Regions from separate parts of the Homo sapiens genome. Here regions 2, 3, 4, 5 and 6 are each linked to region 1. Evidence: promoter capture Hi-C in human tissues and cell types (Jung and others, 2019). All regions are on one chromosome and are shown on one strand. The core of a region is centred on a gene start or on the middle of the fragment in contact, and the rest is flanking DNA. Distances in the headings are between cores, read along the strand shown. Region 1 holds the start of ZNF76 (zinc finger protein 76). Region 2 overlaps TCP11 (t-complex 11). Region 3 overlaps ANKS1A (ankyrin repeat and sterile alpha motif domain containing 1A). Region 4 overlaps ANKS1A (ankyrin repeat and sterile alpha motif domain containing 1A). Region 5 overlaps ANKS1A (ankyrin repeat and sterile alpha motif domain containing 1A). Region 6 overlaps ANKS1A (ankyrin repeat and sterile alpha motif domain containing 1A).

Region 1 (4,973 bases), core at 2,126-4,625:
ATGAAGGAAGCAGAGCTGAAAGCAGCAGGGGCATACGCATGGCCCTGGAGATAGATGCACAAGAGAGTGGAGGAAGAAAGGAGCAGACCTGAGATGGAAGGGAGATTTATATTGTAATCAATTATCAAGATTGGTGAGGTGAGGATGGCTGAGGGGACAAATAAGAGGAAGGCAGGAAGAGGAGGCCCTGTGGAAGGGTGAAAGACAATCCGGGTTTGAAAAGGTGAGGGAGGAATCTGAGAGGCAGGATCTCACAGGATACTGGGCAAGGGTATGAGAGGAGAGGCCTTAGAATGGGAGGGTGTGCAAGTTATACAGGATTGCTTCATGCTGGGATGGAAGGAGCCGATTCCATTGAAGCTAGTCACATCAAGAGGTCACTAAATGAAGGACAAATTATATGAAGGTTTCAGGTCACAGAATGTGGCTGAGGATGGCAGAAGGTGGGGTGGTGGGAGTAGAACACTGAGACTAAAAAATAGGATGAAAGGCAACTGGGCTAGATGGTTTTAGAGCATACAGACTTGTGGATTCCTGGGGCTAAGGGACTTAACAAGATGAAAGGATTTGGGGTAAAGTGCCAGTGAGGTGGGAGACACTGTATGGTGAGTGAGTTCACAGGGAAAGGGCTGGAAGCGTCAAAGATTCATAGAACAAGAGATATTTGGGCAAAGGATGAAGAGAGAAGTTGACTGGGTTCAAGACACTACTCCAAAATATGGCAACTTGAGAAAATGGCAGTAGGAAGGTCACTCTCACTTTCTCTGAGGCTCTTCTCCCCTGAAGCAGATCACAAAACCTAGGAAGGATTTTTCTGACTTTCCCCTGAAGCAGGTCATAATACCCTCCTCATAAAGAGGTGCCCTCCCTATACTCAGAGGAAAGAAGCACCCTTATCTGTGAAGACACAGGGACACAGAGAAGAGTCTGAACAAACAGGCCTTGCTAAGTTTCTCCCAGTTTATTACTATTTGATATTACCCTTTTTGTATTTTTCCACAACTATCCACTCTTCATCAGATCTAGTATAAAAATATACAAGTTTAATCATTTCTTTAGGTCTTCATTTCCTTATGAAGGCTCCTGTCACATAAAACTTACATTAAATAAATGTATATAATCTTCTCTTATTAAATCTGTTGTTATAGGGGCCTAAGCCATGAACCTAAGAAGATATTTTCCCTCCCCTACAAGGTGCAGGGGCTTCAGGGGATATGAGATCAAAAGTCATGAACAGCAGGATGAGAAAGTCACCAAGTTACATGGCAAACGGTAATAGAAACCTTGGGGGTCAGGGCCAGTCTTGGTGGCTCACGCCTATAATCTCAACTACTTGAGAGGCTAAGGTGGGAGGATCTCTTGAGGCTAGGAGCTCAAGAACAGAAACCTTAGGGATCAAGGAACGAGCTGATGTTGTATTTAGGAATTACTAGAAAATAAGGAATAAGGAGCTGAGGTTGAGTAAGTCTGGGGGAAAGACAGGCAATGGAGTAGGGTTTTGTTTTGTTTTTTTAAACTGTGGGTTCAAATCTTAGCTCTGCTACTTAGCTGTGAGAGTTTCTGGTTCATTTCTCTGAAACCAACCAACCAACCAAACAAAAATATGGGAAGGGAAAATGGTGGATATAATAATAATTAACTCTTGGGGCTGTTGAGACGTAAATTTAACTTATATATCCAGAGCTTGGCACACAGTAGGTATTCAGCAAGCCAATCGTTATTGAGGCAAAATCAGGGTAAGAACCAGAGAAGTGAGGCTACAGCAGAGATGAGAAGATAGGGATTCCAAGATGTCAGTAGTAGCAACATAATGCAAGGTATGGGCCACATGTTCAGTCTGTTAAATCCCTAGCACTCAGGACAGAGTAAGATCCATAGCAGCTTCTCATTTCTAACAACAGCTTATGCTAAGGGTTCCCATGAGCCAGGCATGGTGCCCGGTGCTTTACATATGTTATGTCAGGCACTACTATTTTCTCCCTTCGCAGAGGTGGAGACTGAAGTTAAGACAGGCTAAATAATATACCAAAAGTCCCATAGCTGAAGGGCCAGAATCAGTCTGGAACCTAGGTTTGTTATGAACTCAATGCCCCCAAATGAAGCACTCTGCTATACTGCTTTGCAAACATGTTAACTGATGGGGCCTGATCAAGGGAAATGGGTATGCACTATGAAGAGTGAAGAGGGTGATCCGGGAATGAGGGAGTAAGGTTCATGATGCAAGCAGATCCTGGGATGAGGTTACAAGAGGAAATTTCCAGGGTGGGGTACAAAAATGATTGCAAAAAATTATTATCTTGACTGAGAACTGCATAATTTCACAATTTCACAGACGGAAGGAAACTCAAAGATCATCTAACCCAACCTCATCACAGTCATGATGAGAAACTGAGGTCCAGACTGAGGAGGGGACTTCTCACAGGTCCCTAAAGCACAGCAGTGACAGAGCTGGGACCACACACTGGATTGACTGGATTCTGGATTGATCCAGAATTCTCTGATGCCTCCAATTATTACTACTTCATATTAATCTCTATATCCTCCTTAGCACCAGAAAGGTGCTGGACGCTTGTAAGTCATGTGCTGATTGACACTGAAGGGCTGGGATCGCAGAGAGAGATGCCAGTGGGGGTGATTTTAGGATAAAGGCAGACGTGGAACGAGGGTCATACGGCTACAGGATAAAGATACTGAGGGTTGTGTACAAGGTGAGTGCGTGGAAAACTATTGGAGTAGGGCTTAGGAGTCGCCAGCAGAGTTTTGAGGGGAGTCACCGAGTTTGTGGGGAACACAAGGTAGAATCGGGGGGGTTACTGGGCCAGGAGGGTTACCCAGGTTTGGGGGTCACTAAGGAGGAGTGTGGGGATCTCAGGGTCATGTGAGTCACCGGATTAAAACTGAGGGAGTCACTGGTTGGTGGGTCTCTGAGAAGTGCTGGGGAAATTCCTGGGTTAGCAGCCAATGAATAATAACCAACGGTTACCTGGTGAGGTCTTGGGGTCAGTGGGTGGGGTGTGGGGTCACAAGGGTGGAGGCGGGCGCCGTCACGGGGTGAGGTTTGGGAGTCACGGGGGAGGAGCCGCAAGGCGGAAAAGAGGGGCAGGGACCCTGGGTGGGGGAGGGGGCCCGGCCGCGGTCCAGCGGCCAGGCCGCCCTGCTAGGGCCGGAGGGAGGTGGGCACGCCGGGCTCGGGACCTTCCCGGGGTCCTGCGCCCGCCCGGCCTCCCGCCCTGGGCATGGTTGGCCCACTCCTCCCGCAGCCACCAACCTGACAGCCCCCGAGGGCGACTCCGCCGACAGACCGCCATGCACCGGGCCCCGCCACCAGCGCCGGCCCCACAACCCGCCTGCGCCATAGCCCGCCCGCCCGCGCGCAGCTTGCCTCGCGCGATATCCAGGTTCCAGGGCCGCCGCACTTTCCTTTCCTCTTGGCGCGCCTCTACCGGGCCCCGGAACCCGTATAGAAAATACCGGGCACGGTCCACCCCGCCCCCCGCTTCGCCGCGGCAGCCATCCAACTTATCCTGGTTCCGGGGCTCCTGGAGCCCAGGCGGCCGGGATCTGAACCGAGCTCTTCGGAGCCCCGCCCCCACCAAGGCCGGGGTGACGCATGGCCAGCGAGGCTGAGCGCCCAGGGAAGGCGTGCTGACGTCACGACGCCCGGGTCAGGGCCTGGGCGCGGCTCGGAGCCGGGTCGTCGCTATAGCAATCGGGAACCGCTACCTGTCCATTCCAAGGATTCGGTCCAGCAGAAGCGTGAGGAGGTGGCGGAGGCCCCGAGGGCTTTGCGTCATCACTTCTGCGGCCTGCGGGCGAGAAGGTGCGCTTCGGGAGTAGCGCGGGAGGACAGGAGGCGCAGGTTGTGAGGGACGCAGGCCCTGGGGCTTCGGTCTCTGTCCTCCGAGCTCAGAGCCTCCAGGCTTCTTCCCGGCCGCGCGCTCAGCACTCACTGTCTTACGGTCCCGAAGCGCTTTAAGGTGCGCAGTCCGCAGGCCTTGCCTACTGATCTTCCAGCCACCCCTTGAAGGAAGCAGTTGCAGGTATTAAGAGCTCCTTATTGAAAAGGACGATGTAGAGGGGCGGTGAGGGACTCGCCTCCGCAGGGAGGGCGCCCTGGCGGTCTTCTCAGGTTCTCTCTCATTCCCGCGTCAGCTCCACCGTCAGGCTCGAAACCGACTACTCCCTTTTGTAGGCTTGCTTTGGGTTGAACATAAAAACCAAGCCCCTTTACTATTTCCCTGCTGGGAGGGGCTGCGATTGGGAAATTTTCAGAAACCTGAGGGAAAATTAAAAGGGAGCGAGCTTTCGGTAAAAAATCAAATTAAAAAGGAGGGGCGTTAGAGAAGGAACTGGTAAAGATTGCCTTTTAGGAGAGGAACTGGGTGGCTGGAAGAATGAGGTGAGAAACTTTCCCCTCTCTATCCTTTCAGACTTTAACTGGTTTCTTTTGTATCTTCCCCGCCCCGAAAACAATTTAACTTAATAAGAATAATTTTTAAAGGACGTAAACTAGACACAGTTACAAAGTACGGGGTTTGGGGCTTGTGGTAGCTAAAGGTGTCTTTGGGGATGCGGGCATCCTTTTCCTCTCCTGCCTGAAGAGCTTAACTAGAAAGCCCCCCTTTCGGTCTTAGACATCCCCTCTTCCTGACTTGTTCTGGCTGGGACCAGAGTTCAGTTTAGGTAGGCCAGTGAGTGACATTTGATGGTTAGAATTCCTACGGTTAGAATTAATCCCTTCTGTATCTCCTAGTATGGAAATAAACTGCCTGGCCACTATGCTGCCCTCTTTCCATTCCTTTTTGGTGGAAGTTTGACAAGTTATTTCCCATAGAAAATAACTTATAGGCCGGGCGCCGTGGCTTAAACGCCTGTAATCCCAGCACTTTGGGAGGCTGAGGCGGGCGGATCACGAGGTCAGGAGTTCGAGACCAGCCTGGTCAACATAGTGAAACCCCCCCTCTCTACTAAAA
Region 2 (5,128 bases), core at 541-3,040, 140 kb after region 1:
TTCCTATAGTGGGGAATCCCCTACCCTCATGCTGGAGTGGAGGCCATGAACTTGGCCAGCCTGCTCCTAACCTTAGCCATCTGAAGGATCAGTCTAAGTTCCTCCTGTTATGTCAAACACTCACTAGGATCTAACTGATGGCTACTTAAACAATCTTTTGAATAATCTGAAATTTACTAACACACTAGTTTTTTATATTTGTCCTTGAGAGCAAGATAGCAGCCCCCTTTCCAAACAAAACAAATTTCATTATCTCTAGGTAGGGGGGCAGGTTGGTACATATCTGTTAACTTAGAACATGGGTGAGTAGAGTGCAGGGGGAATTTTCTCCCTGAAATCTGTTTGCCTTTTCCCTTATCAGTGTCTTTTCCTGCTCACAGATCAGCGGATCCATTTGTTTCTCAAATGCTGTTTGGTTCTTGGTGTGCAGCGGTCTCTATTAGACCTTCCTGGAGGCCTTACTCTCATTGAAGCAGAACTGGCAGAACTGGGCCAAAAGTTTGTCAACTTGACACATCACAATCAGCAGGTGTTTGGTCCCTACTACACTGAGATCCTAAAAACCCTCATTTCCCCAGCCCAGGCACTGGAAACAAAAGTGGAGTCTGTTTGATAGCGTCGGCTCAGAGCCCTGGTACCTTGGACCCAAGAGGAGGCCCATCATCTTCCTGGAGTAACATCACCAGTGACCAGCAGACAGTGAGCTTCTATCCCAGGCCCTGCAGCCAGTACACCAAGGCTGTAGGGATCAAGCATGTAAACACCAACTGGTCCATACCCATTCATTAATAAACTTCTTAAGTGCAAGAAATCCTCCATTTTTCCTGTGCTGCAGCTGAGGCCAAGCCCTAATGACTTCAGCCCTCAACTAGCTGAGAAGCCAGCAAGCCCTCAGTTTTCCCCTCTCTGGCTATGTGTACCTTTCAACATATAGAGCTGAACAGCCAAGATACCCAGGTGCTAGCCTTATTTTCTTTAAGGGTAAAGCATTACTCCTGGGGAGCTCTTAGACCTCTGGAATTATCCAAATTGTGAATATAAGGGTTTCTTTTGGAAGCCTTTGTTTTGTCCAGTTCACCTCAGGAGAGGACATGGTTTAGGGAAGTTAGTTCATTTCTAGGACCAAATTTCCCTAAAGGTTTCAGAGAATGCAACAAGAAGTCAAGGGATATTAAGAGCCTTAGTTTCCTCTTCTGTTGCATGGTCTGAAGCAATATGCATACCCGGGGCTGGATGAAAATGGATATTGGCTACAAGCAAGCATTCTGTTGAGGACAAGTTCAGAGTTCATGGGACCTCTCTCTCAAGTTATCCAGAGTTCAGACTTGGACAGTTAGGTCTGTGACTCACTTGTATCAAGTTTATTCTGGTCCTGTTCTCTAGCCCAGTAAGTCTCCTTTCCCTCATCTCTAAGCTTAGAACACCCGGTTTTTCCAGGCAGAGGTGATGTGGGCATTCAGAGGTGGAGCAGCCTCCATCCTTCTGGCTTCTCCATTCTGGGCAGTTGTGGTTGTAAGCTGTTGTTGGCATCACAAATAAGAGAGGTTCTAGGAAGGATTTGGGCTTGTCTCCTGAGATTGTAGAGACCAACTCATTTTCAGGCTGACTGCAGCAGACCAGCTCCAACCTAGTATGGCTGAAATGAAGAAAATGTTCAGTTCAGATTTAGAAAATGGAAATTCAATTATGTGTTCTCAAGGCAAGGTGAAGAAAAACAATGTTCTCATCATTTTAGGTGATGGAAGTTGCTGAGTGTTAACACACCTAATCTAGGAAGAACAACAGAAGGGGGATTTGAGTTCCATTAGGCCCAGTGTTTCCTTCTAATTGATTTCCTTTTTTAGAGGGTAGATCCTAGGTAGGTGACAGAGCTAGATCAACACAATGTGACTTTTACTATGACTAGAAAAGCTGGAGGGCCTGGATCATTTGCATTTTTCGTCTTATAACTAGACAGCTTCAGGATGGGGAAGCCCAGATAAAGTGGTATGTTTAATAAACAGTGAGGCTTGCCCAGTTGGATTCTCTGATTTGTAACTATTAATTTGAATTTTTAAAAAATCCACGTTTTGGAAACCTCATTATTTTAGAGGTAAAAGTACTCTGAAGGGATTCCTGGGAAGAAGATTGTCCAGTTGGCAGGTGCAGACCCTGGACTGATAATAGAACCTTGCTTTGTACTTCACAATTAAAATAGGGACTCATCAGTACCTTAGAAAATTTGAATTTATTTTCTTATGCTTTCTCATGGAGGAGACAGGGATCTTGTCCCTAAACAAGGAAAGATAGCTCCATTCAATCCTGCCCACTGGTTTGAGGGAATTTTAAAAAAATGTATATTTGTATTTTAAATTGTGGAGAAAATACATGTAATATGAAAGCTATTAGTGACATTGAGTACATTCAGAATGTTGTACAGCCATCACGACTAACTAGTTCTAGAACATTTTCATCACCACCAAAGGAAATCCCATTCCAGTAACCAGTCACTGCCCATTTTCCCCCATTCCCTTCCCCTGGCAACCACTAATCTTTCTGTCTCAATGGGCTTTCTGACTCTGAATATTTCCTATAAATGGAATCATATAATATGTAGCTTTTTGTGACTGGCTTCTTTCACTCATTTTTCAACATTCATTTGTGTTCTAGCATGTATTGGTAGTTCATTCTTTTTATAGCTAAGTAATATTCTGTCACATGAATATACCACATTTTGCTTATCCACTCATTAGTCCATGGGTATGACTTCAGCCCTCAACTAGCTGAGAAGCCAGCAAGCCCTTAGTTTTCTCTTCTCTGGCTATGTGTACCTTTCAACATATAGAGCTGAGCATTTTGGCTTTTGTAAACAATGCCACAGTGAACACTTGGCGTTATTTACAAAACTCATACATAAGTTTTTGTTTGAACACCTGTCTTCTATGTTTTTGAGTGTCTACCCATATATCCAGGAATAGAATTGCTGAGTTCTATGGTAATCCCTGCTTAATTTATTGAGAAACTACCATTTTGAGTTAGTATTTGTATATGGTGTAAGGAACAGATCCAGCTTTATTCTTTTGTATGTGGACATCCAGTTTTCCTAGCATTATTTGTTGAAGAGACTGTCCTATTCCCATTGATGAATGGTCTTGGTCTTTGACTGTTGTCAAAAATCGATTGACCATATATGCAAGGGTTTATTTCTGGACTCTATTTTATGCCATTTATCTATATGTTTATCCTTATGCCAGTAAGATATTGTTTTGATTACTGTAAGCTTTGTAAGTTTTGAAATTAGGAAGTATAAGTTCTCCAGCTTGGTTGTTTTTCAAGATTATGTGGCTATCCCTTCCATTTCCATATGAATTTTAGGATCCATTTCTGTAAAACAGGAAGTTGGAATTTTTGATAAGGAGATATATATATATAAATTTGGGGAGTATTGCTATCTTGTCTTCCCATCCATGAACACAGAATGTCTTTTCCTTTTGTTAGGTCTTTAATTTCTTTCAGCAACCTTTTATAGTTTTCAGTGTACAAGCCTTGCACTTCCTTGGTTAAATTTATTCCTAAGTATTTTATTCATTTGGATGTAATTGTTAATAGAATTGTTCTCTTAATTTCTGTTTCGTATTGTGCATTGGCAGTGTATAAAAGTAAAACCAATTTGTTTGTTGATCTTGTACCCTGCAACTTCACTGAGTTTATTATATCAAATACTCTGTGAATTCTTTAGTATTTTCTACATATGAGATCATGTTATCTGAGAATAGGAATAGTTTTGCATTTTTTTTTCCTAATTCTGATCCCTTTTATTTATTTTTCTTGCCTAATTTCTCTGGCTAGAACTTCCAGTACAATGTCTAATAGCAGTGATAAAAGCACTTGTCTTGCATCCTGATCTTAGGGGGAAAGCTTTCAGTCATTCACCATTGAGTATACAGTTAGCTATGGATTTTTCATAAATACCTTTTATCGTGTTGAGGAAGTTGTCTTCTATTTAGTTTGCTCACAATTTTTTTTTTTAATCATGAAACGGTATTGAGTTTTTTGTTTGATTTTTTTTTTTTTCTTTTTTTGTAGATAGGGTCTCGCTCTGTCACCCAGGCTGGAGTGCAGTGGGGCGATCACGGCTTACTGTAGCCTTGACCTCCTGGCCTCAAGTGATCCTCCTGCCACAGCCTTTTGAGTAGCTGGGACTATAGGCGTGTGCCATCATGCCTGGCTAATTTTTGTATTTTTTGTAGAGATGAGGTCTCACTGTGTGGCCCACACTGGTCTCAAATTCCTGGGCCCAAAAGATCCTCCCATCTTGGCCTCCTAAAATGTTGAGATTACATGCATGAGCCACCACACTTTGCCTTGGATTTTGTCAAATGCTTTTTCTGCATCAATTGAGATAATCATATGCTTTTCTTCCTTCAGTCTATTAATGATATGTTGTTTGATTTTCTTTTTTTTTTTTTTTTTTTGAGATGGGGTTTCACTCTATCGCCCAGGCTGGAGTGTAGTGGCACGATCTCGGCTCACTGCAAACTCCGCCTCCCAGGTTCATGCCATTCTCCTGCCTCAGCCTCCCGAGTAGCTGGGACTACAGGCACCCGCCACCATGCCCGGCTAATTTCTTTTTGTATTTTTAGTAGAGACGGGGTTTCACCGTGTTAGCCAGGATGATCTCGATCTCTTGACCTCGTGATCTACCTGCCTCGGCCTCCCAAAGTGCTGGGATTACAGGCGTGAGCCACCGCACCCGGCCTTGATTTTTCTTATATTGAATCAATACTGCATTTGTGGGATAAGTCCCATTTGATCATGGTGCATAATCCTTTTAATATGCTGTTGGATTCAGTTTGCTAGTGCTTTGTGGAGGATTTTTGCATCTGTATTCATAAGAGATATTGGTCTGTAGTTTTCTTGTGGTGTCTTTGTCTGGCTTTGGAATCAAAGTAATGCTGGCCTCTTCTGTTTTTTGGGGGAGGAAGAGTTCGAGAAGGATTGGTGTTAATTCTTTAAATGAGTGGTAGAATTCACCAGTGAAGCCATGTAGTACTGGACTTTTCTTTGTTGGGAAGTTTTGATTACCAAACTCTTTACTTGTATTTAGATTCTCTTTTTCGTGCTGAATCCATTTTGGTAATTGATATGC
Region 3 (4,512 bases), core at 1,564-4,063, 210 kb after region 1:
AGGAGAAACGCTTGAACCCAGGAGGCGGAGGTTACAATGAGCCAAGATTACGTCATTGCTCTCCAGCCTGGGTGACAGAGTGAGACTCCGTCTCAAAAAAAAAAAAAATTTTTTTTTATCTACTACTTATTCACAGCAAGCCTGTGAGGTTGACACTATTATCCAAAGGTTGCAGATATGGGGTGAGGGGTGCAGAGACATTAAGTGACTTGCCAAGACACATATGTCTCTAGAGCCAAGATTTCAACCCAGGGCTGTGAGGCTCCAGAGCCCAGCCCGTCCCCACCAGGCCCCGTGGTCTCTGATGTTCCTTTCTCCCTGATGTGCACACTCAAGCCCACCCATCAGACTTCCTGCCCAGGGCCACAGAAGCCCATGGAGGAACTAGAGGTGTCACTTGAGACTGACAGGTCAATCCTGGATGGAGCCTCCTGAGTGAGCAAGAATTTCCACCCCTTCAGGGCAGAGAGGCATTTCCATGAAGGTGAAGACAGGCCAGGCTCCCAGCTGGGCTGCTTTCAGCCTGGATGCCCCAGTGCCCAGACCATCTTTGGATGCTTGGGGGAGAGGTGTGAGATCTGCTCTGAGAGGCATCTTTAAGAGCATCTCGCCTGAGAAAGCAACACAGCACAATCCTATCATCAGATAAAACAGCTCAGATGGCCTCCCCATTCCCTGTTTCAAACAAAGAGAACAGAAGCTGGCCTCACTACTAGGGCTTAGAAAAGAATGACCAAAGTAGCAGTGATACAGTGTAAGAATGGTAAGTGATGAAGTAAACTGAGTCAGGCACAAGGAGCTGTGGGAAGAGGAAACAGCACAGTCAACCCTCCCAGGCAATTCACATGCATGCTACGAGTCTGAGACCCCTGGTCTAACCCAGTGCTCCGCCACCATCACGGATGAGACTCTTGAGAGCCATCTTGGAAGCTGCAGAGACCAACGCTGAGGTGCACTCTGATTTAAGCCCATCTAAGAAAGCCCATAAAATAATGAATAAGTTACGATTGTTGATCTAAAAATTTTTCCCAATAGGCAGCTTAAAATTCATTTTGTCCCTTTTCCCCTCCCATATGTAAAAGGAGTCATGGCTCTAAAAATAACAGCAAGATGGGGCTGTCTAGGTATTGGAGACTGAATTATAGGAGCATGACGTGGTCTGAAGCTGACCTCTCCCACCCACTGAATGTCTGTCTTCTGTGTTAGAGGAAAGCCTGAGCCAGAAAAGAGCCAGACTGCCAGTTTCTGTGGGGAAAATGGCCACTTAGTACGGTACCTGAGATCTTCTGCCGTTCCTGAGAAAAGTCAATCCCTTCTCCAATAGAACTCATGATTTTCTCAATCTGAAATGGAAGAAAGAACAAAGAGGAGAGGCAGTCAGGCTTGGGGTAAACCTTACCAGCTCACCACAGCGCCAGTGGGGTCTGACCTCCAGGTCTCTTTCAGATGCTTCCCAGGACCAGCACCAGCCTGCAAGGTATCAGGACTCTGCTGCTCAGGTCTAAGAGAGGCCTTCTCTGGCCCCAGCCCACAGGGTCCGATGTACTGCTCTGAAGGGAGTGAGATGGTGACAGTCTGGGCTTAGCTGCTAGAAATACTGAAGAGCCTCCCTTTCAAGGCATCTCTATGTCACTCCCCAGCAGTTCTCCCAGACCAGCAGAGACTGGGGAGAGGCTGCAATCACAGGCCAGACCTGGCCATCTCATTGCTCACGCTAGAATTTCAATTCCATGAGAGTGAAGACTTTGCCGGCTTTGTTCCATGCTACCCTGAGTGCCTAGGGTAGTGCCTGGCAAATCATAAGCATTCAACAGATAACTGATACTGTATGACCACAAGCTCTGGGGAGTGAGGATGATTTCTAGAGCGCCTGCATACAGAAACCTCTGGGAAGGAAAGGTGAGGCAGGCACTTAGGCCCAAATGGAAGGCCTTTTGCTTCTTGGAGTCCAGCAGTCCTGGATAGAGCTCTGCGTTCAGGAGATGAGACGGGGCACAGACACCTGTCCCTCTTCTGGACCACAGCAGAGAAAGCTAGTTTCAAAGCATCCAATGGCTCCAGCGCTGCCCCCAGTATGGACCACCTGTCCCAGCCATCTGGCCTTGGCCACTATGGGCCAGATCCAGGCCCCCTTCCCCAGGAAACCTGGCCAGGGGCAGAACTAGGCAGTGGGGAGCAGCCACCTTCTCTTCTTCCCCTCCTCCTCCTTTTTGGGTTGCAGTGATAATGAGCTCATTCACTGCTCTTTTTCCAAAGGAATGAAAAGAGGACCTTTTGTACCAGGGCTTGGATGCTTTTTCCTCTAAGTGCAAGTAAGGAGCCTGGGTCAGACAATTGGAAAAACAATTCTCCAGCCAGCCTTCAGCTGGCAGACAAAGCCGTGCATCTGACACCCAGCAGAAGAGCACAGAGCAAGCGCCATCTCTCCTTGGGCAGCTGGGGGCTCGGGGAGGTATCTTCCTCCAGCCACAGAATCGACTGCTGGCTCAGGCTGTCATCTGACTGCCTGTTAACCAGACTGCAAGCTCCTTCCCTGAGCTCAGCAAGGCAGAGGGAAACGAATCTGACCCCTGCAGCAAACTGAGGGTGTGTCTCTAAACACTGGCCCCAGCAGCCCAGAGGCACAGGGAGGAAGGATAGTGTCAGAGCAGGCTGGCTCTGCCCCTTGAAGAAAACGCCTCCCTCCACCCCCATCTCTTTCTCTGGCCATGTCTGTTTCAAGTGCTGCCTCCTTCAGCAGGGGCAGCATGATACAAGGGAAACTCCCCAGACCTCCCAAAGCTTCCATTTATTTTTATTTTTATTATTCTTTTTTTTTTTTTTTTTTTTTTTAACAGAGAAGAGGTCTTGTTATGTTGTCCAGGCTGCTCTCAAACTCCTGGACTCAAGTGATCCTCCCACTGAATAGCTAAGACTCCTGAATAGCTAAGACGACGACGACAGGTAGGTGCCACCATGCCTTGCTATTTTTTTTAATTTTTATTTTTTTTGGAGGCAGGGTCTTGCTCTGTTGCCCAGGCTGGAGTGCAGTGGTGTGATCACGGCTCACTGCAACCTTGACCTCCTGAGCCCAAGTGATCCACCCACCTCAGCCTCCCTAGTAGCTGGGACTACAGGCGTGCAACACCACAGCCGGCTAATTTTTTTGTTATTTTTTGTAAAGGCGGGGTTTCATCATGTTGTCCAGGCTGGTCTCAAACTGTTGGACTCAAGTGATCTGTGCACTTTGGCCTCCCAGAGTGCTAGGATCATAGGCATGAGCCACTGTACCTGGCTATTTTTTCTTTTTTGTAGAGATAAGGTCTCACTATGTTGCCTGGGCTGGTTTCAAACTCCTGGGCTCAAGTGATCTTCCTGCCTTGGCCTCCCAAAGTGCTGGGACTACAGGTGTGAGCCACCATACCTGGCAAGCTTCCATTTAAAATGGATAAAAATGAGGATGATACTGCCTTTGTCCAGGGTTGTGTGGATTAAAAGATATCATGTACATAAAGCACCTGGCTGAAGGTCTAGCTCACAGTAAATGCTCAATAAAAGGTTAGTTTGCTTTCCACTTCCGCTCTGTTGTCCTCTGAGTGCTCCAGTCCAGTAAAACCTATTTTTAAAGTTGTAAAAATATTTTTACTTACACTTATTTTTTGATACATTCACATGATTCAAAATTCAAAAGATACAAAATGTTATTCAGAGAAAAGTCTCCCTTACCCATCTCCCAGTTGCCTCTCCGCATTCTATTCTACTCACACGCAGAGCTTAACACTGTAGACACCAATGAGGGTTGGCATCAAGCGTATTTTATTTGCCTTGTCACCCGCTGGGCCTGGCACATGGTAAATAGAGAACCTATTGAATGAATCTGTGAATGAACCAAAGTGTAGTTTCCATTTCTTTAGAGTCTGCACTGGAAAAGCTGTTCTCCACGGCCATGCAGCGTGCTGGGGAAGGAAAGGGCTGAAATGGTGGGGTGACTCCAGGGTATCCTCTGAAATAAAGTCATATTATATATTTCATTATCACCATAATCACTTAACATCCGAAGCCCCAGCTGGCCTGTCCAATCAGCATCCGTTGGTGGTACAATTTGTGAAATTTTGCCGAAGGGCCTTTTGGCATCAGAGTGAACAGAGTTGAGCACCCTCGCTGCTTCTCCGCTCTGCTCTTTCCTGCTTGCCCCAGGAGTCACCCACTAGTCAACTGACATAGGCCAGCAGAAGCCCAGGTTTCTTTTCTTTTCTTTTTTTTTTCTTTGAGACATGGTCTTGCTCTGTCACCCAGGCTGGAGTGCAGTGGCGCAATCATGGCTCACTGAAACCTTGAACTCCTGGGCTCAGGGGATCCTCCCGCGTCAGCCTCCCAAAGCACTGGGGTTACAGGTGCCTGACCCAGAAACCCGGGTATCCATGTGAGGTGTTCCAGACTGCAGACCGGCTGGGAAATGCTAATGGATGCTCTCAGGACGATTTTGCCCAGGCTAGGAAGTTGTTCTATTGTTCTGTGAACTGCCATGGCTAA
Region 4 (4,738 bases), core at 2,147-4,646, 190 kb after region 1:
GGTGAGGTGGGAGGATCACTTGAGCCCAGGAGTTTGAGGCCAGCTTGGGCAACGCAGTGAGACTCTGTTTTTACAAAAATAAAAAAATTAGCCAGGAATGGTGGTGCGCAGCTGTGGTCTCAGCTACTTGGAAAGCTGGGTGGGAGGAACACTTGAGCCTGGGAGATTAAGGCTACAGAGAGCCATGATTGCACCACTGCAGTCCAGCCTGTTTCCAAACAAAAACAACAATATATGTGTGTGCACAAGTGTGTGTGTATGTGTGTGTACATACAACAAAAAATAAAGCAAATTAACCTTTTGGCCAGGCGCGGTGGCTCGGCCTGTAATCCCAGCACTTTGGGAGATCGAAGTGGGCAGATCATGAGGTCAGGAGTTCGAGACCAGCCTGACCAACACGGTGAAACCCCGTCTCTACTAAATATACAAAAATTATCCAGGTGTGGTGGCGGACGCCTGTAATCCCAGCTACTCGGGAGGCTGAGGCAGGAGAATCGCTTGAACCCAGGAGGCGGAGGTTGCAGTGAGCTGAGATCGCGCCACTGCACTCCAGCCTGGGTGACAGAACGAGACTCCATCTCAAAAAAAAAAAAAAAAAAGAAAATTAACCTTTTATCTATGAAATGAGTTAGATATTTGTTTTCCAGTTTGCTATTTATCTTTTGGCTTTTATGCTGGCTTTGTTCATGTAGAAATCTATTTTTTGTAGCTAAGTGTACCCAACTTTTCTTGCAGAGCTTCTCAGTTATGTCAGGCTTAAAAAGATCTTGCCTTTCCAAGATTGTGTTTTACATTCTTCTATATTTTTTCCTGTAATTTGTTTCCTTTTTTATAGCTAAATCTTTAATCCATCTGGAAATTATTTTGCTGTAAGGTGTAAGAGTCAAGATCCAACCTTATTTTTGCCCTGGCAGCAAGCTGTCCATTTCTTGATGAGCTATCTTTTCCCCCCAATCTGGAATGGCCTCTATGGTGTCTGAAATTCCTGTGTATTTCTGGGCCTCTTTCTGGACTTTTACTCTGTTGTGGTGGGCATTACTTTACACTTGGAAAAGCTAAGTGACTTGGGCCAGCTCATGCAGACCATGACTTGCTTGGCCCCCGCCCCGTGTGGTGACTGCTGGCCACGGGAGTCTCCCCAGAGCCTGTGCATGGTGACATAAACGTTGTCCCACAGAGGACACTGCCAGACTTAAGCTTCAGAGAGCCCAGGTGAAGAGAGCCCCAAAGCCAGGCTGGAAGCCCACTACTCTGCTCCACCTGCAGAACACACCCCTTGCTGGGCACAAGCGAGGCCTGGGCACCACTCCAGGTCTGAGGCCAGCCAAGTCACCCCCAAATCTGAGAGTCACCACAGAGTTCCTACAGTGGCTCTGGGACCAAATCTAACGTCTGCTGTTGCAGAAAGGCAGAGAGAGGCAGCCGCCTTCCCAGACTTTTTTTTTAAAAGTGGAGTGCAGTGGTGTGATGATGGCTCACTGCAACCTTGACCTGGGCTCGAGTGATCCTCCTGCCTCAGCCTCCTAAGTAGCTGGTACCATAGGCATGTACCACCATGCCTGGCTATTTTTTTTTTTTGTAGAGATGGGGTCTCACTATGTTGCCCAAGCTGGTCTTGAACCCCTAAGCTCAAGTAATCTTCCTGCCTCGACCTCCCAAAAGTGCTGGGATTACAGGTGTGCACCACTGCCCCTGGCCCCGGCCCAGACTTTCTACCTGATTATGAGGATACCAAAGCGAACGGCTGAGCTGAGCCTGCCTCAAACCTCCAAGAGGACGTGGACGTCCAAGAGTGACTGCGGCACCGCAGTGATGTTCTAAACTCCCACTCAACCCCAGCATTGACTCAGAAACCTTCGCCAGCTTTCAGGGCACCTGAAGGCTGACAGCGAGGAAAGCCAGATCCGCCGGAGACAGGCCCTTTGCTAACCAGACCTTGGCCAGCAGAAGGGCGGGCTGTGTGCAGCTTTGAGGAACAAGAGATGAATGGAAACACACAAAAATAAAGGAAATGACAGAAAAGAAAGGCAAACCATTGCCAGAGCACATTCCGGGCGCAGCGCGGGGTCCTCCCAATTCCTGAAGTAGCCATATCTCCGCACCGGGGGATGAGCTTGTGTGGTGACTACTCAGTGCCACATATCCTCAAAGGGCAAGAAACGTTTCTGGAAGTTACCACACCCTCTTTACTCAGGGAGAAGGGACCACTGGCTTTTAGAAACCTCTTCACAAGGAGGGTCATGGGGGAAAAGAGATTTTCTACTTTATCTGCTACCATGCTAACATTTACTGAGTACTTACTACATGGCAGGACACTTCTATAATTAGGAAGTGAATAAAGGACAACAGTTCATTGTCCTAGGGATTTTAGTTAACAGGGATTGTCTCAGCTTTGATAAAAGCTTCACAACTCCAAGTGACATCTGAAACACACAACTAGTCTTCCGGCCTGGCCTGGTTTGGGTCCAGTCCCTGAGGAAGAGGGGACAGGAGGGCTCCCAGCAACCAAGGCGGGACAGAGCACTGATCTTCGCCTGGGATCTGGGCCTCCCCCTGTCCTGACTCGCTCAGACTTCATATCGCCGGCAGGTGTCCGACTGCTCCCCGCTTTGCAGAGGAAAAAGTGCTCCCATGGAAGAGGCAGAGCCAGGATGGCCCCTGGCGGCCTGGCTCCTCAGCCTGTGATCATGGCCATGGCCTGCTTTGGAGAACTCAAGGGAAGGGGACAGCAAGAAGTGCTCCCCTGGGTCACTGAGCTCTGGGCATAACAAGAGTTCCCTGGGCACCCTCTGCCGGGCTTTGTGGGAGGTGACGTGTGACGTGTGGCCTGTCCTGGGCTCACAGTGAAGATGCGGGCCAGTGATACTGAGTTCTGACCACAGTCCAGCACTGTGCTAGGGGCTTCACACCCATGACCTGCAAAAATCCGCCCAATAAACCTTTCAGATAGGAGCTGCTCACATTACACAGAAAGAAACTGAGGCTTGGAGAGCAGACTGGACTTATCCAAGGCCATGGTACTAGAGCATGGCAAAGGGACTGCTCAGGCCCCATCTGACCAACCCCAGTCGTCTTCCTCGGCTCTTCCTGCTGGGGCAGGCAGGGTGTACTGAAGACAAAAGCAAAGTGTGGGGGTGCGGGCAGACGCCTGCCAGACAGCAGGAGCAGGACACCCGTCCTGGGCTGGGGCACAGCCCCTGCTGAGCTGAGAGCCAATGCTGCCTCCCTCCGTAGAATCCCATCTCTCAGCATCGCGCATAAATGCTCCTCCCAGGACCCTCTCCCTCCTGGCCACCTTTTCTCCACCTCTCGGGGAAGGGACACTGTTCCTTTAACTGTACAGAATCCAATTCTTAGAGGTGAGTGGGTTCAGAAATGCCAGGGCCTCCAATAAGGGAGAAACAGGGTCAGGATGTGGGCCCAGGCCTCTGGATACATAGCACGGGCACTGTGCCAAGGGCCAGCCTGACTCTGGAAGAAGCCAGCCTGGCCTATTGGAGTTCAGTAAGGGGCTGGGTTTGTAGAGTCGCCCATGATCGTGGCTGGGTGCCCTTCCTTGGTAAGGTACACGTGAAGCGTCTACCATGGTGGCTGTAATCAGTGTCACTTTCCATCAACCTAAGCCATTTGAATGCTTTCTCCTTCCTGCGAGTATCTGTCACTGGGCTCCACCTGAAGATGCAGAAGGTAGCTGAAAGCATGGAGGCCCAGGCGAACGGAAGGAGCATGACAAGGGTCGGCCCGGGTCGGCCCCGGGCGTCCTGGGAGAGCAGGAGGCAGGAGAAGCGGCAGGGGCTACTGCAGGACCCACACTGCTTTCTTCCTGGCTTTCTCCAGTCCACTGGGGCTCTAACATCTTCAGAGCCTTCCTGCCCATGTGATTTTAGAAGGAAAATATCCTTTTGCATCTTGAAAGGCATCTCACGTGTTAATATTTTGCTTAACTGCAGGTGAGGTCTTCATTCAACAAAGTGGCAAAGGCCCAGGAAGGGGACTGTTTGGGAGTGGTGACACACTGGTGTAGACCCTTTTAGCCAAAGGGGAAATAGGAGCTGTCCTAAGTTACCACTGAGGGTTGCAGGGCAGCCCCAGATGGGGAGGGGCCGGCCTGGGCCTTGGACTCCCTCTCCCTCCACACTGGTTGCTGGCTGGGCTGCTTCCTGCAGCCCTGTCTACAGGATGGGGCAAATGGCAGGACCGCAGGAAGGCTCCACGAGGCCGGGGTAGGTAGGAGTTTGCTTTGACTTTAACGGATCTTCTGGAAACAGGACCCTGACACATCCAAACCGCAGAGAAGTTCTGACTGGGAGCGTGTGGCCAGCTCAGGGGGTGTGGCTCTGCCAGACAGCATCTGGTACCTCAGCGGTATGAACCAAAAATAAAACCATCAGCCCCCCAGGAAACTGAATGGACCCCCCCTCTAGGCCAAGGGGATCCCACAGAAACCTGAAAAACAGGTTCAGGCCATGATGGGTAGGGGCATTGGACCTGCCTCATTACACCCTCCTCCCTGTGGAATTCAGGCACAACAGTCCCACATTATCATTAAAGCAGAGATCCTAAGACTGACCCAGCGGACTCTGTAGCAACAAGACACCGAGTGCCAACCTGACTCCAGTATGGCATCGCATGACAGACAGCAGCCCCGAAACAAAGTATTTTACCCCCAAATATATTTCTTTAGCATATTTTGAAATGGCCCTGCAAAGCTGCCTCTTGTGGGGGAAATTTACATTCT
Region 5 (4,896 bases), core at 1,317-3,816, 250 kb after region 1:
GACTCATGGCTACGAATATTACATATAACAACTGGCAGCCAGAACAAAGCTACCCAGTGATGTTGCATGGTGGGGCTACAGTGAGGATGACACATGACCATTTAATGTGGTTCAGGTCAATAGTACTTCCTAGGAGAAGCTGATGGGGAGAGTTAATCAGGCTGTAAAATTTGCCATCTCTGGGACCACATTCTAATAGCCGACTTCCTACAGATCCTGGCCCAAGGTACAATGTCCCTCTGACTATATTTGAATGCAAGATGACTTTGGTAAAAGGAGCACAGGCTTCTACTGCTTTGTATCAACTTCCAGCTTCATATTTAACAACTGGGAGCTAAGGCACCAACAATGAAAGGAAACACCACAGCTCAGAACTGGGGGCCAGCCTGGCTCACACTGCCTGGGTGGACCTCAGAACCCAGGCCACAGAGAATGTTCTAACTGCTGCTGTGGGAGCCAACAATGCAGGCCCTGTGAAACAGCCACCCATTCATGCTAGCTATCAATGATGAAAGAGAGACAGATGCCAAGGGCTCAATACCAGACACATGCCAAGGGGAAGGAAGTGGGTAGAAGGAAAGAATGGAAACTTACGGAGGAAGGAAATATGTGGAGGAAGAATCTCTGAGGGTCATAATCCTATTAGAGAAACCACAATCCACCAATATTTTGTGGAATATAAGAAATGATGGAAAGAAATTCTTATAATCATATGACTTAGCCAGGCAATTCCTAAGAAAGACACTTTGGTATCTGAAAAGCTTGCCGAGATCCAAGACCCTAAGGCTGGTGTTCTTGTTCCCATTAAAAACTACATCCAAGGCCAAGATGAGTTTTTTTTGGCAGATCAATGGGTGGGAAAAGAATTACTCAATGGTTTCTTCCTTCTGCAAAGTAAGGATAATATAAGGTCTCTTAGGGACAAGGTGCTAACAATAGAATATACTGATCAAGAAGCAGTTTTTAAGCAAATCACTTCTTTGTGCAATTCTGGGATCTTAATTGGGGGATTGTTGCGGTAATTAAATTATACGTGTAATGCATTAAGAACCGTGTCTAGCACATGCCACGCTCTCAATAGATGTTGAAATTGTTATTATCCTCCACACAGGGTCCGTTACAACACACTTTGCTCACAGATGAGACCAACTACTTCTCCGTTCCTCACAGGTCTGTCACAAGGATCATCAAAGATAAGGTACATGAAAGTACTCTGTAAGATATAAAGCACTTCACAAGCATTCATTACCTTCACCATCCTTATAACTCTGAACAGCAGAAGGAAGGGACAGAAGGTAATATGGTGAGAGGGCTGAAGTGAGAAACTCTGAGACAGGCCCCAGAACTGTCACTGTAACCACTCATCCCATGGACAAATGTATGAAGTGTCTGTCCTCAGGAGGCACCCAGGTGGATATGAGGATAAAGAGGCCGGGTGTGGTGGCTCACGCCTGTAATCCCAACGCTTTGGGAGCCTGTGGTGGGAGGATTGCTTGAGCTCAGGAGTTCAAGATCAGCTTGGGCAACATGGCGAGACCTCATCTCTATAAACAATTTAAAAATTAGCTGGGTGTGGTGGTGCACACCTGCTGTCCCAGCTACTTGGGAGGTTGAGATGGGAGGATAATTTGAGTCCAGGAATTCAAGGCTGCAGTGAGCTGTGATCATGCCACTGCACTCCAGCCTGGGAGACACAGCGAGACCTTGTCTCACCAAAAAATAAAAAATAAAAAAAATAAAGACACCAAGTCTGCCTCAATAGATGCTTTAAGACAGGCATAAATCATATGCTTGGCAGACAAAAAGGAAAGCCTGATTACTTCGAACCAGAAGGCTTCTCAGAAGAGGTAGCTTTCGAGCTGAGCACTGAAGGAGAAATAAGACCTTGTCAGGCTTACAGAGAAGTAAAAATACATTAGAAAAGGCAGAGAAGGGCCAGGTGTGGCAGTACATGCCTGTAATCCCAGCACTTTGGGAGGCTGAGAGAGGAGGATCACTTGAGCTCAGGAGTTAGAGACCACCCTGGGCAACAAACCTCACGCCCAGGGACTAGTGAAGTTGCAGAAGAGACCCTTAGGCCTTTCTCCTACACTACTTCCCATGTTCCCCGAGCTCTGCCCTCCCCACAGTCTGCCCTTCTAGGAGAGAAACAAGGAGATAGTGGCACACAGGGAGGGAGGCCTGTTTCTTATGCTACCCATACATCGAGGCCAGCTGTTCTACTCAATATGGCACACCAGCATGCTAATTCCCAATCCCATCAACTTGTGATCCTCATTCATTTTCCTTATACCCTGTGAGCTACTGAAGCAAGGGGTCTTCTGTGCTGCATTTTAATTACTACGATGAGCTATGGGATCTCAAGGGCTTTTGAATAATAACACTTCAACATTTACACATTTTCATTCACCTCTGCCCACTTAAATTAAGGCTAAAGAATGCAGCTCATGTGAGGAGTTGCTAATTCAAATCTCCCCTCAGGCCCAGAGAAGAAGGCTGGGGGACCCAGTGTCTCATATTGTTTTGTGTTCTCCGTATCATTAGGATTGGAATCCTCCAGCTGCCTAGTCACTATAGTGAGCATCAAAAACCATGGGTGTGCAGGAGAACTCCCAAGTACATGGCTGCTTTCAGAGGGTCACCAGGCTCTTCCTGGAAGGAAGGTCCTGACCAAGTTATTCAGACACTTGCTGAAGACTGCAATTTGATAAGACAAATAGACTGAGAGTTCATTTTGGTCCACGGCAACCTGAGAAATAGAATAAGAGCTAGACAGGGATTCAAGAAGCCCATGTTTTAGTTCCAGCCCCGTGACTTTTCCTCTCTAGGTCTCTTTCAAAAAATGAATGCCTGGGATGCATTCTCCAGGGCTTTGGGATTTAGGCTAGTTTGAATCTGTGATTAAAGGACCTCTCTATAGTCCCTACCAGTTCTATGATGTTAAGAACATGAATAGCAGAAAGGCTTTTGATGAAATGGTTTTAGCCTCATGGTTAAAAGTACAGGCTTTGGATTCAGTCACACTAGGGTTTAAGTCTCAGCTCCAATACCTAACCTTTTCTTCCTCAGCTCTGAAACAGGGACAAAAATAGCCCCTACCCTGAAGATCTGTCACAAGATATACAATGACATAATCAACATAAAGGAAATCAGCATGGCAGCTGGCCCGTGGGAAGCATTCAGTAAATGATAGCTGCTATCATTATCACCATTTTTCATTTACAGTCATTTCTGAACTCTTAGCTCATCATGCTAACACTGCACAGAGAGGCTGGTTTCCCTTCTCCTGACTCTGCAAAGGAGACTGATTTATTCTGAGTAGCCCTTTTAAAGAGGCAGAATAAAACTCAAATGCCAGGGAAGGCCAGTATTCTTATAAGTTTGGTTTGGGATTACATGTAATAGCACAGTGGAGAATCTTCAGATTAGGAGCCATCTGTACTCACCTTGGGGCCCATAGGTATAGCCCAGCTTTGGGACTTCGGACTGTTTCACATTGACTTGGTCTTGATTACCTCATTACATCTCCCCCTTCTTCTTGAACTCCTAAAGCGTCTGTTCTCTACCTGTCATTGGACCTCTGACCTCTGGCCCCCAAACTTCCCTAGTTTTCAATATACCAGCTTTGCCTGGATCAGCTTCCAACCAGCCACGATTTCTAACCATGCCTAATTTAATAGCATATTTGCTGTCTTTGCTCCCCTTGATCTTCTGCCAGTTCTTGTAGTGGGTATTCATAGCCATTTGCTTTCTCTTCTCCAGTTGCTGGAATGTTGAGCCCTTTTAAATACTCAAGAAACAACTGACTTGAGTCCTCTACCAATTCACCTAACTCAGCTGGCTTCCAACAGCTACTACTTATTGAGTACTACTCCTTCTGTGCCAGACACTATGCCAAGCATTTTCTTTTTAATATTCACAACAACCATGAGGTAAGAATTAGTATCCCTTCTACATGTAGAAACTGAGGCTTAAAGAAGTTAAATGATTCCCTAAATAATAGTCACCATCCAGTAAGTGCTAGAGCAATAATTCAAATGCCAGCTTGATTACCAGGCTCAGTGAGCTTTTCATTCATCTCTTGAAAACTATGTAAGATCGATTTCCTCATCTCTTCTGCTCTCTTTAAGCCATCATCTTTACCCACAGCACCTGCACTTTTTGGAGGACAATCACACCAATTTCCCGAGAAGACAGATCAAACTTTTTTAATGACTACTCTCAACACCATGTAAAAATTGGGGGGTAATTTCATCACTTCTCTCCTACCTTAGAAATTAGACCCCATTTAGGCTTTACCAATGGCCTTCTAACTGCCTAACCCTTTTTCTAGTTTTCATCCTTCTAGCTCTTTCTAGATCAATGGATACTGTTTGTCCATTGCCCCCAGTACTCACTCTCCCCTTCCTTCCTTGGTTATGGGACTTTTAGACAGGTTCACAGCCACCTAGAATAAAGACAATTATTTCCCACCTCCTTTGTAGCAAGGTGTAAACACATGACCAAGTTCTGGCCAGTGGGTTATAAGTGAAAGTGGCATGTGTAACTTTTGGGAACTATCTTTAAAGTGCCATTCTCCCCTTTCTTCCTTCCCATGCTGATGCCTTGAACTTGGATAGCCATCTTGAACCATGAGATGGCAGAAAGGGACTGGGTCCTTAATGGTCATGAACTGTTGTTGAGCCCAGCACTCTTTACTTCTATCTTGTTCAACCAGAGTTATTGAGGGTTTTCTGTCACATTCAGCCTTAGCTCCTAAGATATTGCATTATCCCAGTTATCTTCCTATGTTTCTTTCCCCTTGTGCCTCTAAACATAAGCTCTACTCTTTAAAAAAAAAATTATTATTATTATTTTGGAGATAGGGTCTCACTCTGTCGCCCAGGCTGGAGTTCA
Region 6 (4,589 bases), core at 1,161-3,660, 230 kb after region 1:
TGTCCTATTGATTTCAAATGAAAAATTGGTACAAAAGCATCTTTACCTGCAAATTAAGGTCATAGTGAGTCATGTAGCTGCTAAAAAATGCTTGAGCAAGTCTCATGGGCCCAGAGCAGGCGATTACGCTGTTAGGTGGAGAGTAGGTAGAGTCACTGTTATGTGATGGGACATGGGGAAAAGCTACATTGATTTTGCCAAAAGAGCACAACAGGGAAGAGGCTGAGCTGTATCTCCAGGGCAGAAATCACAGGATAAAGCTTTAAAAGGCAACAAACACCTCCACTCCACAGAACCGCTTTCTGTATGGCCTCCTGATGGAGGTGTGGTACCTCTGGAAGCATTGTGCACACTGTCTTTGACTTGGGCTCACGGACAGATTGAACCCTTAAGTTTTCAGGAGACTAAGATGCGCATCAAACCCCTTGATGAAGCATTATCAGGTGGCCTGCAACATGTAAATCTCATCATAGTGTACCATGCAATGTACATTATGTACAAGCATCTGTAACAATGTCATACGATTTCAAGAGGATGTTCACCGAAGGGCCGGGACAAAAGCAGTTTGAAAATAAGCCATCTGAGGTGAGAGAGAAGAAACTGGCGTGCCTGCCTGGCAAGGAAACGAGAAGGTTTGAGGGTGGGAGGACATAATTGCAGCTTCAAATATCTGAACAACTATTATGGAGGACTGCATGCATGACCTACCAAGAAGGTAAAACCAGAATTGATGGGGTGGAAGTCACAGATTTTAGCTGGATATGAGAAAGGATTTTTCATTATTTCATAGACGTAACGGTGGATGGTAGAGGGGGTTACTTGTGGTTTACAAGCAAAAGTTGGAAGATCATTTTTATTTATTTAGTTAGTTACTATTATTATTTTTAAACCAGTCAAGTACGGTAGTAAAGAAGGTCACTTTTAGACAACACAGAAGTGACTTTGTTCATAAGGGAGCTGGACTACATGGTAACTAGGATTCCTTCCAAATTCCAAATTTTAGAATTTGCCAGAAATCATCACCTCACTTTTCAAGTCACAAAAGAAAAACCTAACAGCCCCCCATCTTAGAGAGCAGTAAAGGGAAGAAATGCTTTGAGTCTTAATATTACGGTAAAAAAGGAAACACATGCTTCTCCCAGGAGACTCCTTTCGTAAGTTGCTTTCCTTCATACACAAAGACCAATATTTTTGTCTGCAGTTAGAGGGAAAAAGTAAGATAAAGCTGCAATAATTTGGGTTGAAACAAGAGGAAATGAAAAGTAACTGCTAATTAATGCTGAAATAAAGGTTTAGCTCACCTATATTCTAAATACAATCCTTAGAAGATGTAGTTCCAACTGGTTTCCCACATTTATCAACCCTAAGACCGTAGGCAAGTCATTTCAGCTCTCAAAGCTTTAGTTTCATCACCAGGAAAAGTGAATCAAATAGTGGGCTAGATCAAATTGTTGCTAAAAATCAACAGGATGTCTAGCACTCCTCATAGCAAAATGAATTCCGAAGAAACAAAGATTTATACCTGAAAAATGAAACCATAAAATATCAGGAGGAAATTATGTGTTTGTGTGTGTGTATATATATAGAATATGTAACTATATATATATAAAAAATAGATTTGTAATCAAATAATATATATTTGTATATTACATATAAGTATATATTATATATGTAATTATATATGTATATGTAATAATATATATAATGTATATATACAAATAATATACATATATTTGTAATCTTAGAGTAAGGAAAGTCTTCTTAACTGGGATACAAAATGCAGAAGTCGACTGGGCGCCGTGGCTCACGCCTGTAATCCCAGCAATTTGGGAGGCCCAGGTGGGTGGATCACCTGAGGTCAGGAGTTCCAGACCAGCCTGGCCTAATATGGTGAAACCTCGTCTCTACTAAAAATACAAAGATTAGCTGGGCGTGGTGGCAGGTGCCTGTAATCCCAGCTACTCAGGAGGCTGAGGCAGGAGAACAGCTTGAACCCAGGAGATGGAGGTTGCAGTGAACCAAGTTTGTGCCACTGCACTCCAGCCGGGGTGACAGAGCAAGACTGTCTCAAAAAAAAAAAAAAAAAAAGCAGAAGTCATTCAAGATTGATAGATTCAACTACATAAAAATTCTAAATTTCCACATGTTAAAAAAAACATAAAAATACCACAAGGCCAAAAGACAAATCATATCATAGATAAAGGGCTAATTTTTCTCAAATACAAAGAGCTTCTACAAATTAGTAACAAAGAGATCAATTCAATAACAACGTTTAAAAAAAAAAGAGAAAAGGAATATAGAAAGTAGTGTTTTGTAAACATATAAAGAGATGCCAATGTCACTCATAATAAGAAACACACTTTAAAACTAACCCAAGATAAGATAACATTACCAATCTGTTAACCAAAAAGAGACTAAAAGGCTGACCACCCTCATGTTGATAAGGTGTTTACATGTTGTGGGTAGGAAAGTAAATTTAACACGCACAAACTCTTTCACACAGCTGTTCAGTTTCTAGAAACATCTTACAATGACTCTGTACAAGGATTTGCATTGCAGCAATGCTTTAATCAGTAAAAGCTTGGTAACATGTAGAATGTCCACCTACAAGAAACAAAAATAAATGATAGTATATGCACACCATGGAATATTATGAACAATAAAAAAGAAAACTTCATGTACTCAATTAGAATGATTTTCAAAAAATTACTATTACATGAAAAAAGCAAGGTTCAGAGCAGTACACATGAGACAGCACCATTTTGTCTTTTAAAAAGAAAAATGCTTAACATGTCAGAAATGCTTCTACATGCAGAGAATATTTCTGGAAGGATATTCAAAACACCAGGGAGAAGAACTGAAAATCTGGAAGACTTATTTTTCACTATATAGTCTTTGGTACCTTTAAAATTTCACCTAGATTCAGGTATTATAATTTTAAAAATACAAAATCCCTAAGGTATAAACATTCCATTTCTAGGGTTAGCTTTGCCTAGATTTCTACATACAGTTAGATATGGAGGTTAAGCTATATATTCCCTCCAAGGACACAGAAACAGCCTATGACCTTGAGGCTGGGAGATCTCCACCCTTGAAGTACAGTGTGAAGATGGGATGCCAGTCCTCTGCCACTGCACCCAAGTTCCACGGCACTCTTCACTGTCCTTTGGCCCAGTACAGAGGGCCCAAGCTGCAAAACCAGGACTGTATGCCCACTGCATAATGGATATAAGGCTCTTCCATGCTTTTGGGGGAAGTTCTGTTGAAAATAACTAGATCCAAAGTGGAAAGGAAAGGAACCAGAACATTTACACAAACCACAACATTTCAGCTGAGTTTACAATGGCTTCTTGCCTGTTTAAATCAGGACAGCCAAGAACAGACTGCCAGATAAATTGTCATTTGTAGGCACCTAGTGAGCTTAGGCAGTTTTCCACCTGTCCAGGCAAATAAAACAGGCTGCCTTGAGTTATGGACAGGTGGGCCCTGTGGCGCCAGAGACTGGGTCATTAGAGCTTGTGAGCAAGAGTAGGATACCTGGGAAAGATTCGCTCAGCATCTTGGCCCTGCCCAGCAGCTACAGGCCACAGACATTCTTCTTACCCACTGGCTACTCACCTGGTAGCATCAAAAGGGAACATCTATGGAGAAGAAAGCAGGATAAAGGAGCCCTAGGCAGGGAGGGTAGTCGTCCATGATCTGATCTCATCTCACAGAGCTGAGATCAGAGAGCACATCTTTGAGGATGCTGGCATAACACTGGGGTCAGGAAAAGACCCTGTGTTGTTTCTGAGGGTCACACATTTCAAAGGAAGTGCAAATGAGGTCCAGATTAATTGTTTTCTCAGAGTCTTACATAATAAAAAGCCTATCCCCCACCATCTGGCTGCCACTCTGACCACACAGCATATCTCTAAACAAATTAAACTTCTCTGGGATATATACACACACATGCGTGCATGCATACACACAGACCACCTTCATATCTGGTCTCTAAGAAGCTCCCTCTACCCTGATGTCCCCTAAGTCCACCCAGGATCAGAGAATGTCTGAGGCCACCAGCATCTCCCTCTCTTACTGGTTGTAATTACCTATGGGCCTGGCTCCTGAGAGGATGTATTTAAGATTCATCAGGGCAAATTATTTGTGGTGAGTGCTCTTTTAGGACATCAGCACCATTTCTGTGTTCCAAGTGGTGGTGGCATACCCTCAACTCACCTTCCCTGCCTCCATGAACACCCAATCAGTTGGCCTCCCTCACTGGATCTCCCATTTCTGAGATTTCTGGCCATCTTCTGGTCTTAGTAATTTTGAATTCTCTTCCCTTTGCTTCGTGATCCTGGTTTTCAGATTTTATTTCTGCCTTGAGTATGCAATGAGCTTATGGAAAGGCATTTCCTAAGACAATGACCTATAACCCAGCCCCTCTGCCAGAACTCACCCAACATCCTTGCCTAGGATGACAACAAGAACAATGATCAAGTTTGAGAAATTATGATTTCATTCTAGTTCAATAGCTTTTTAAAAATGTGGGTATGTGCATGTTTAAAAGCATGCACCCAACAGCTTAAAATAAAGAAATCAAGGAA

Evidence for each region. Contacts are between HindIII fragments. The study calls those that stand out against the background at their distance.
Region 2: a fragment that was not itself captured here is called in contact with the fragment with the promoter of ZNF76 in region 1 in 7 of the 25 tissues and cell types used here (IMR-90 fibroblasts, adrenal gland, bladder and 4 more).
Region 3: a fragment that was not itself captured here is called in contact with the fragment with the promoter of ZNF76 in region 1 in 1 of the 25 tissues and cell types used here (aorta).
Region 4: a fragment that was not itself captured here is called in contact with the fragment with the promoter of ZNF76 in region 1 in 1 of the 25 tissues and cell types used here (mesenchymal stem cells).
Region 5: a contact is called between a fragment that was not itself captured here and the fragment with the promoter of ZNF76 in region 1, in 3 of the 25 tissues and cell types used here (bladder, mesenchymal stem cells and mesendoderm cells).
Region 6: a fragment that was not itself captured here is called in contact with the fragment with the promoter of ZNF76 in region 1 in 2 of the 25 tissues and cell types used here (dorsolateral prefrontal cortex and mesenchymal stem cells).

The regions. Positions count from the first base shown.
Region 1 is chr6:35,258,137-35,263,109 of GRCh38, reverse strand. ZNF76 (zinc finger protein 76) reads right to left here and starts at 3,375. Exons shown (of 14, transcript NM_003427.5): 1 at 3,269-3,375. SCUBE3-AS1 (SCUBE3 antisense RNA 1) reads left to right here and starts at 3,655. Exons shown (of 4, transcript XR_001744102.2): 1 at 3,655-3,820. RefSeq lists silencers at 2,943-3,262, 3,273-3,392. The HindIII fragment of the contact is 24,264 bases long and covers 1-4,973 here.
Region 2 is chr6:35,113,754-35,118,881 of GRCh38, reverse strand. It overlaps TCP11 (t-complex 11), which reads left to right. Exons shown (of 10, transcript NM_001370687.1): 10 at 381-807. The coding sequence ends at 613. Among named protein-coding and RNA genes, the nearest start is that of TCP11, 25 kb to the left of the region's middle. The HindIII fragment of the contact is 6,471 bases long and covers 1-5,025 here.
Region 3 is chr6:35,050,930-35,055,441 of GRCh38, reverse strand. ANKS1A (ankyrin repeat and sterile alpha motif domain containing 1A) reads right to left here. Exons shown (of 24, transcript NM_015245.3): 12 at 1,277-1,343. Among named protein-coding and RNA genes, the nearest start is that of TCP11, 88 kb to the left of the region's middle. The HindIII fragment of the contact is 3,342 bases long and covers 1,143-4,484 here.
Region 4 is chr6:35,071,277-35,076,014 of GRCh38, reverse strand. All of the region lies in intron 13 of ANKS1A (ankyrin repeat and sterile alpha motif domain containing 1A), which reads right to left. Among named protein-coding and RNA genes, the nearest start is that of TCP11, 68 kb to the left of the region's middle. The HindIII fragment of the contact is 3,192 bases long and covers 1,801-4,738 here.
Region 5 is chr6:35,010,128-35,015,023 of GRCh38, reverse strand. The region is part of intron 10 of ANKS1A (ankyrin repeat and sterile alpha motif domain containing 1A); the gene reads right to left. Among named protein-coding and RNA genes, the nearest start is that of ANKS1A, 120 kb to the right of the region's middle. The HindIII fragment of the contact is 8,554 bases long and covers 1-4,896 here.
Region 6 is chr6:35,026,849-35,031,437 of GRCh38, reverse strand. The region is part of intron 11 of ANKS1A (ankyrin repeat and sterile alpha motif domain containing 1A); the gene reads right to left. Among named protein-coding and RNA genes, the nearest start is that of TCP11, 110 kb to the left of the region's middle. The HindIII fragment of the contact is 3,162 bases long and covers 830-3,991 here.